Linked DNA regions of Homo sapiens: region 2 is linked to region 1. Evidence: promoter capture Hi-C in 16 types of primary human blood cells and fetal thymus (Javierre and others, 2016). All regions are on one chromosome and are shown on one strand. The core of a region is centred on a gene start or on the middle of the fragment in contact, and the rest is flanking DNA. Distances in the headings are between cores, read along the strand shown.

Region 1 (4,978 bases), core at 323-2,822:
ACAGACGTGCACCACCATGCCCCGCTGATTTTTGTATTTTTAGTAGAGACGGGGTTTCGCCATGTTGGCCAGGCTGGTCTCAAACTTCTGACCTCAAGTGATCCGTCCGCCTCGGCCTCTCAAAGTGCTGGAATTATAGACTGTGAGCCACCATGCCTGGCCCAAATATGTGCATTTAAAGCTACAAATTTTCCTTTTACACAGTGTCACTGCATTCCACAAATTTGATATGTTGTATTATTATCTTTTATTTCAAATTATTTTATTTTTATTATTTTTTATTTTTGAGACAGAGTCTTGCTCTGTCGCCCAGGCTGGAGTGCAGTGGCTCCATCTCGGGCACTGCAACCTCCGCTTCCCGGATTCAAGAGATACTCGTGTCTGACCTCAGGTGATCCACCTGCCTTGGCCTCCCAAAGTGTTGGGATTACAAGTGTGAGCCTCCGTGCCCGGCCTCAACTTATTTTTAAATTTCCATTGATCTCTTCTTTGACCTAGAGATTTGGAATTATGTTGCTTAATTTCCAATATTTCCGGAATTTTCTGGCTTGTTTGGGTTGATTTCTAATTTTAATTCTATTGCGGTTAGAGATGATACTCTGATTTCAATCCTCTTAAATTTGAGGCTCACACTGAGGATTAAGTATAAAAAAATTTTTTTTGATACCTGTTTCATGGACTCGCCTCACAAACTTCTGTTTTAAGGTGGGGTAATTATAGTGCGTTCAGGGATGGATTTTTCTTCTGCTTTGGTTATGCATAGAGTGCACTGTGGCCCTTCAACACTATACTCTGAAATCCCACACAGTATTTTCCTCATCTGGAGGTCCTATAGGCTTACACTAGGGAGGAGGATCCAGTTCAGGCCAGCGTAGTCTTCAGCTGCGCCGTGGGACTTTCGGGGGAGCGCCTTTGCCCTCTCAGAACGGCTGGGCGGAACGGTGGGTTTGTGAGCCCTCCAGGCTCAGGGTGGGTCGCTCAGGGGCCATCTGGGGACTTTGGGAAGCAATGAAAGTTGTACCCTAGGATTTTTTTCTACTGGTCTTCTCTTCAGAGGCGAGAAAGCCAAGTTAAGAAAACCCAGACTCAGAAGGAGGTGGAGCGGGACTGCGTTCAGGCAAGGTGGCAGAACGCCTCGCCGTGGACGAAGAGAGCACATCTCTTCTTGCGAGGCCTAAGGAAGTAGGGCTCCCACTCGCCTCGGCAACCCAAGGACCCAGCCAAGGAGAGAGCCTCCAGATGAATCCTTCCTCTCCTCCTTCCTTCCCAGCCGCTCAAACTTTCACAAAGAGGAACTGGGTGCGGTAAAGAGGCCGGACACGGAACCGCTCGTCCGGTGACCGAAGAGACGGCGAGGAGGAGCCCGCGAACCCGCCTCTGTTCAGGCCCCGCCCACTCGACGTAATTTGCCCGCCCCTCTCCACCCTCCGAAGGGTGGAGCCTGAGGCCCCGCCTCCAAGCGGCCTCTCCCCGGAGTGCCTGGCGGCCAGCAGGGCGGGGCAGGAGGCTGGGAGAGGGACGGGTGCGGGGGTGGGGGAGAGGAAGGGAGCGGTCACGTGTGAGGGGCGGCCCGAGGTCACGTGACGGAGCGCCGGAGCGGAGGGAGCCGGGGCTGGGAGTTCTCCTGAGGGAAGAGGAGTGGAGTAGGGGGGACGCGGCGGCGGCGTTGACAATGGTGAGTGCGCGGCGGCCAGCGCGCTCGCCTCCCGCCCTCGTCCCGGAGCGCGCGGCGGGCCGGCCAACCGCGGGCCGGGCGTCGCCGGAGGAGGGGACGGGGGAGCAGGGCGGGGAGCGGGGTTAGGCCTGTCGGGCCACCCCTGGGTCTGGGAAAAGCTGGCGGCGCCACCTCTTCCCGGTCTCGGCGAGGCCCGAGCACCTACGGGCGGCGGCGTGCTCTCCTGGCCATGTCGGAGCCTCTGCCCGCGTTCTTCGACTGCTTGTTGGGGCTCTGGCTGGGGACTCGGACCCCGCCTCTGCGGGGGCTGGTCGCCGCCTCCCCTTCCTAGGTAGCCAGTCCCTGTTCTCCTCCCGGGCAGCCTCTCTTCCATCCAGGTGGGGCGACCCGGGAGCCCCCCACCTCCGGACTCTTCGGGGGACTTGGGCACTCAGTGTGTCACGAACTTGATAAACTCTGATATTTTAAAACCTGACTATGGTGACATTCTTTGATTTCATGACCCCAGTTCAGGCTTTCTGTTGACACTTGTAAAATGGGAGAGAAAAATAAAAGGACGTTGGAATGGGGGATATCTTTAACTCCAGAGACACCCGTTTGGTGCCCGCCGTTTTAAGCATTGGCTCTCATTTCCGTCCGCAAGCTATTTCGCTGAACTTAACGCTCTGGGTTGTTGAAACGGCCTATGAGGCAGAGGAGGGAGGGGAATCAGTGCTCTCACCACAGTCCGCGGAAGCACTAGCCTGGGCATTGTGGTATTTAGCTGGGTGTCGGCAGTCTCTAGGTTAGATCTCATTTTACCCATTTTCTGGTAGTAGTCGTCAGTTCTCTTCATTTAGCGCCTACTGTATGCTCTCCTAATACTACCTGCTCTTCCCAAAGCTCACTGATTCAATAGACTGCTTGAGACTTTTGGCTTAAAAGGCCGAGCCAGGTATATTTTTAAAAAGCTACTTTGAATAAATAACTTTTAATTTCAGTAATGATGTTGCTTTCAAAACAAAACAAAACAAAATCCAGACATTCATGTTCATTCTTAGAGCTTTTTTTCTTTCATTCAACAAATAATTGCTCAGGTGTGCCTAGGGGACCCCAGTAAAATGGAAACAGCGCCTACCTGCTCTCGTAGCTTACAATGTAGGGAGAGATAAACATTTATTTGTGTAAATTATTTGTTTAACGTGGAAATTAGAATTGTGACAGATACTAAGAAGGAAGTATTGGGGGACCTTGCCTAGTCAGTGTTAGGGCAGGCTTCTTTAATTGAATATCATTTGAAAAGAAAACTTAAAAGGTCCTCCTATTTTTTGCTTACATTTGTAATTATTACTTTTAATACGCTTTTTTGAATTATGTTCAAGAGCAGTTTATATTTTCAAGTTACCCAAACAGAAACTAAATTGTAAAACTTTAAAACACTGAAATGGTCACAGATGTAATATATGTATGAAAATTTGCTGTTTCATTGCTTGTGTATGGGCTAAGTGAATGAATTTTGAGAGTCAGCCTTCCACCTCAGAAATGCAATGAGTTGCATTTCTTTACATCCACTGGACTTAGTGAAATTCCTTCAGTGGGGACTAAAAAGTTGCCTTTTTATGTATCTACCATGTATTTTTGCTAATTGGTAATGCTCAATATTGGGTTCAGAAATTATATGAAAAATCCTAAATTAACCTAAAGTCAGTGATAGGAGGTTTAGGCCAAGATTAGAAAACTATAAAAACAATTGCTAGCATGTTTTTATAGTCATATATATTGCAGTCCAGTTATTTAAAAGCTCAAGAGTTTTAACTTGCATATTAATAGTTAATCCTGAAAATCGCAATATTCCAAATGCGCCCTTGAAGATATCTTTACCAAAAGAAGTGAGTAGTATTTTTGCACTTAAAAGATCTCACGGGGTGCGGTGGCTCACACCTGTAATCCCAACAATTTGGGAGGCCGAGGTGGGCGGATCACCTTGAAGTCGGGAGTTTGAGACCAGCCTGGCCAACATGGCGAAACCCCGTCTTCACTAAAAATACAAAAACAAAAAAAAATTGGCCAAGTGTGGTGGCGCATTGCTGTAGTCCCACCTACTCGGGAGGCGGAAGTTGCCTGACCAACATGGTGAAACTCCGTCTCAACTAAAAATAAAAAAATTAGGTGTGGCGCACACCTGTAATCCCAGCTACTCAGGAGGCTGAGGCAGGAGAATCAATTGAACCCGGGAGGCAGAGGTTGCAGTGAGCCGAGATCGCGCTGCTGTACTCCAGCCTGGCGACAGAGTGAGACTCCGTCTCAAAAAAAAAAAAAAAAAAAAAAATCTCAAAACTGAATTGCTGTCTGCATCATATCCTAACCCTCAACAAATTTTATTCTCTTTCCTTCTAGTCTTTACCAGCTTGACAGTTGTGTATTTTACTTCCTCTTTAACATATCAGAAGTATTAGAATTTTATTTAGAATAATTAGAAAAAGAATTTAATTTCATTACCCTTTATTTCAAATGACAGAAGTTGCACATCTTAGAAAAAACTTTGAAAGAGAGACTTTGGGTAGAGATCTTTCTCTTTCAGTTCTTTCTAAAAGACAAGCTTTTTTCCTCAGTTATTTTTTTCTTTTTGTTCTCTACCTGTAAAATGTAAGATATCCACAATTTTCTGGAGGTGTTTTTTAGTAAGACTAGTTCTTTTATTATTATTATTATTTTTTGAGACGGAGTCTCGCTCTGTCGCCCAGGCTGGAGTGCAGTGGCGCGATCTTGGCTCACTGCAACTTCCGCCTCCTGAGTAGCTGGGACTACAGGAATGCGCCACCACACCCGGCCAATTTTTTTTTTTTTTTTTTTTTTTTGTATTTTTAGTGGAGACGGGGTTTCGCCATGTTGGCCAGACTGGTCTCAAACTCCTGACCTCAAGTGATCCGCCCGCCTTGTCCTCCCAAAGTGTTGGGATTACAGGTGTGAGCCACTGTGCCTGGCTGACTAGTTCATTTTCGATATGCCCTAATGTAAAAAAACTGAATGTTGGTCGGGCGTGGTGCACTTTGGGAGGCCGAGGCGGGCGGATCACGAGGTCAGGAGATCAAGAGCATCCTGGCTAACACGGTGAAACCCCGTCTCCACTAAAAATACGAAAAATTAGCCAGGCGCGGTGGCGGGCACCTGTAGTCCCAGCTACTCGGGAGGCTGAGGCAGGAGAATGGCATGAACCCGGGAGGCGGAGCTTGCAGTGAGCCGAGCTAGCGCCACTGCACTCCGGCCTGGGCGAAAGAGCGAGACTCCATCTCAAAAAAAAAAAAAACCTGAATGTTAACCCAA
Region 2 (4,554 bases), core at 1,577-4,076, 110 kb before region 1:
TCTGAAAAATGCAGAGACTCTTAAGAGCTAAAGGAATGTACATTATCAAAGTAAATAGTTGCTTTCTCCCCTAATATATTAACTACATTAATTATAGATTAGTTGAAGTCTAAGAGGCACTTGTCTCAAAAAATGAATAAAAACTAAATTGCTGAGATATTATTTAATAATTCACTTTATTTAAAGTAATATCGTGAGATATTATTTTGTTTTTACTCTTCATAATAGCTGAAAAAATGACAGTGACCAGTGTTTTCAAAATGTTCTTATTGAGCATTCTCATATATTGTTGGTTGGCATATTTGTTGAAAATAATTTGGCTGTATGTTGTGAATTATTTAAAATTGTGTAAACTCTTTTACTCAGTAAATTCCACTTCTAGGAATCTGCCCTAAGGAAGAAATCCAAAATCCAGACAGATTTTTGCACAATTATACTCATGTTTCAAGTTTAAAAAAAATGTGTGTATGTGTATAAACTTTACAAAGCTTTGTGTTGACAGCTGACTTTGTAGATTACAGCAAGAAAGCTGCTCTGCTATGTATGACACTCTGACCCAGAAGCAGGTCATCTGAATAGTTTAGCACCAGGTTCTCCACAACCATCTGTTGTGTGACATAGACGTTTTTGTGATAGTAAAGAATTGGAAACAACAAATTCCAGGTTAGAATTAGAAGAATGGTTAAATAATAGAATATCTATTTAATTGTATATAATGGTGTACTTAAAAATGAAGCTAAGAGTTGATAATGATATGAGTAAAGTGTTTGTGGTGCGAGAAAGAAATATGCAAAAATAATAGTGAGTGCTTCTGGGTAGTAGGATTTGGGGGGGGATCTTTCTTCCCTTTTCCCCAAGCCCCCTGCTTCAGTAAAGATCTGTTACTTTTATAGTCAGGAAAAAGTGATATTAAAAAAATTACAGTACCCAATGAAAATTACAGTTGTGACCATTAACTTAAACAAATCACATGTATATTTTAGCTCCTGAAGCTGAAGGAGAAGTGCCAGAGCTTTATCATCAAAGAAAGGGGGAAATAGCAAGGTGCTGGATCAAATACTGTTTGACTCTCATGCAGAATGCCCAACTCTCCATGCAGGTAATGCAGTCAGAAGCTGCCTTTTTCTTTCTTAAATGAGGAAATTGTAAGTAAAAACTCATAGTGGGGATTGTGCTCATTGGGGTCACATTGTGTTTAATATGAAAGGTGTGTAGAATGTTTTCGTAAATATTTCTTTCTTGGTTTTAAATCGTATTCTTCGAATTGCTTGAATCCGGGAGGCAGAGGCTGCGTGAGCCGAGATTGGACCACTGCACTCCAGCCTGGGCAACAGAGCGAGACTCCATCTCTAAATAAATAAATAAATAAAATAAATCTTACTCATCATTCAAGGCCTATCTTAAATACTACCTCTTCCTTGAAGACTTTTCTTTGGTTAGAATATAAGCTTCTTGAGAGCTGGGAACGATATCATATTCTTTTTTTTTTTTTTTTTAGACAGGCTCTCGCTCTGTTTCCCAGGCTGGAGTGTGGTGGCGTGATCATGGGTCACTGCAACCTTGGTCTCCCCGGCTCATGCAGTCCTCCCACCTCATCCTTGGAGTACAGGCGTGTGCCACCATATCCAGTTAATTTTTAAATTATTTTGTAGAGACTGGCTCTCACTGTGTTGCCAAGGCTGGTCTTGAACTCCTGGGCTCAAGTGATCTTCCTGCCTTGGCCTCCCAAAGTGCTGGGATTACAGGTGTGAGCCACTGTGCCTAATCTTTTTTTTTTTTTTTTTTTTTTTTTTTTTGAGACGGAGTTTTGCTCTGTCGCCCGTGCTGGAGTGCAGTGGTGTGATCGCAGCTGCAACCTCTGCTTCCTGGGTTCAAAGGATTCTCCTGCCTCAGCCTCCTGAGTAGCTGGGATTACAGGTGCCTGCCACCATGCCTGGCTAATTTTTGTCTTTTTAGTGTAGATGGGGTTTCACCATTTTGGCCAAGCTGGTCTCGAACTCCTGACCTCAAGTGATCCATCCATCTCGGCCTCCCAAAGTGCTGGGATTACAGGTGTGAGCAACCACACCTGGCCAAGCCCTTACTAATCTTTATATACTTCCCAGTGTTATCTTACACACAGCATGGACTTGATAAAATCTAAAAGGGTAGACTTTTAAGAAATAGCTCATGTAATAGTTCAAAAATAGAAGCAGAACTGATGGCAGTGAAGAGCATGGACTTGAAATACACTAGGTAGGTATGAACTCCAGCTCTGCCGCTTCGTAGCTATGTCTTTGTGGCAATTTACTTAATATATTTTTGCCTCTATTTCCTCACAAGTAAGTTGGAGATAATAGTACTTAATACTGTTGTTATGGGAGTTAAGTCAGTATATATTAAGGCCTCGGAAAAGTGCCTGAGACATACTAAGTCCTTAATAAATGTTAACTACCATCATCATTATTAATTTATGCCCAATCCTAGTTTCTAAGCACTAGGGAGGATAATAAAATTAATCATTTAGATGCAATATACTAAGTGTAGATACATAGGAAGATTTCCTGGGGGATTCATTGTGCTTTTATTTTTTTATATTGTGTATTAAAGTATGATAATTTTTTTTTTTTACATGGGACTCTGCTTGATAAAAGTATAATAATCTTTAGTGGTTGTATTAGTCTGTTCTCACACTGCTATAAAGAACTACTTGAGGCCAGGTACAGCGCCTCATGCCTATAATCCCAGCACTTTGGGAGGCCAAGGTGGGTGGATCACTTGAGCCCATGAGTTTGAGACCAGCCTAGACAACATGTTGAAACCCTGTCTCTACCAAAAATACAAAAAATTAGCCAGGCATGGTGGTGTGCACCTATAGTCCCAGCTACTGGGGAGGCTGAGGCAGGAGAATCACTTGAGCCCAGGAGGCAGAAGTTGCAGTGAGCCAAGACTGCACCACTGCACTCCAGCCTGGGTAACAAAACAAAAGAACTACCTGAGACTGGGTAATTTATGAAGAAAAGAGGTTAATTGACTCACAGTTCCTCAGGCTTAACAGGAAGCATGACTAGGAGCCCTCAGGAAACTTAGAATCATGGCGGAAGGCGAAAGAGAAGCAAGCATGTCTTACCATGGCAAGCAGGAGAGAGAGAGAGGGCAAAGGGGGAAATGCCACACACTTCAAAACCATCAGATCTCATGAGAGAGCTCACTCATTACCACAAGAACAGCAAGGAGGAAATCTGCCCCCAGTGATCCAGTCACCTCCCACCAGGTCCCTCCTCCAATTTAATGTGAGATTTGGCCAGGGACACAAATCCAAACCATATCAGTGGTAAATAATATAGAACCTTGTGAAACTACTAAACGAAAGAAAACCAAACAAACAAACCTCAACACATCAGAAGCATAGGTCTTGAAAAGATGAAGATAATTTTAGAGGTCAGAGGGTAAAGAGGAGGCATATTAAGGAAAGACAGGAAGTAGGGAGAATAACTGTGGGGCTTTATGTGTAGAGAATTTGGAGCCAGGAAGAGCTGTCAAGTTTATTCTGGTCAGGTAAAGAAAGCTGGAAAAGGAGGGTTGCAGGGACTATTGGAGCAAAACAGTAGGCTAATTTAAATAAGCATCCTAGAGAGAACATGTAAGTAAACAAGCAGCCCAAGAAGGAAGGAAGTATACAAGATTTAGAGACTTATGATCTACATTTGAAGTAATTGTGTCAAGCAAATCGCACTATGATTTGACCCTTACCTTTCATTTAGTTGATGTTTCTAGTCTGGGAACTTAAAACTTCATCACTTGGTTAGTTTAAACTCACATATTTGCCATGCTACTAAACTACTCAGATTTTCCTTAAACCCAGTTTTGTTTTTTGAGATGGGGTTTCTGTCACCCGGGCTGGAGTGCAGTGGCATGATCTCCACTCACTGCATCCTCCACCTCCCTGGCTCAAGCAGTCCTCCTACATCAGCCTGCCAAGTAACTGGGACAACAGGTGTGTGCCACTGTGCCCGGCTAATTCTTTGTATTTTTGTTAGAGACGATGTTTTACCATGTTGCCCAGGCTGGTCTTGAACTCTTGAGCTCAAGCGATCCACCCACGTCGGCCTCCCAAAGTGCTGGGATTACAGGTGTGAGCCACTGCGCTCACCCCTGACTTTATTTTTTAACCTTAACTTCATCCTTTATCATCTGTATATTTATCTGAAAGACCTTCTTCAGTTCAAGCTTTAAGACATACATAAATTTATTCAATTAAGTATTTATTTATGCCAACCCTGTGCTAGTCATTGGCCAAGGATACTATGATGAACAAAAATGAACCTAGCCTTTAACTTCATGTAAAAGTACAATTTTGCTAAGTTCCACAAAGGAGAGACACATGATATGAGAAGGCACAATAGGAGGAAATAACAAGCAAGCTCTGGGGATGAGTAAGTAGGAGTTACCTAGACTGAAGAAAAGAAGGCACACCATGTCAAGGAGCTGAAGCAACATGTTTAGAAGTTCTGTGGCGTAAGGGAGGATGATATCAGAAGGGATGGAGCAAAGGCTGTGAGGTTGGAGCTGAGG

The links. The method cuts DNA at HindIII sites, captures the fragments that hold promoters and counts their contacts. A CHiCAGO score of 5 or more calls a contact.
Region 2: a fragment that was not itself captured here is called in contact with the fragment with the promoter of VPS26A in region 1 in 6 of 17 cell types (monocytes, activated CD4 T cells, total CD8 T cells and 3 more); the score reaches 12.5 in monocytes.

Annotation. Positions count from the first base shown.
Region 1 is chr10:69,122,606-69,127,583 of GRCh38, forward strand. VPS26A (VPS26 retromer complex component A) reads left to right here and starts at 1,573. Exons shown (of 9, transcript NM_004896.5): 1 at 1,573-1,675. The coding sequence starts at 1,673. RefSeq lists enhancers at 807-1,166, 2,031-2,537 and a silencer at 1,427-1,826. The HindIII fragment of the contact is 9,705 bases long and covers 1-4,251 here.
Region 2 is chr10:69,009,917-69,014,470 of GRCh38, forward strand. KIFBP (kinesin family binding protein) reads left to right here. Exons shown (of 7, transcript NM_015634.4): 6 at 984-1,099. Among named protein-coding and RNA genes, the nearest start is that of KIFBP, 23 kb to the left of the region's middle. The HindIII fragment of the contact is 2,761 bases long and covers 1,447-4,207 here.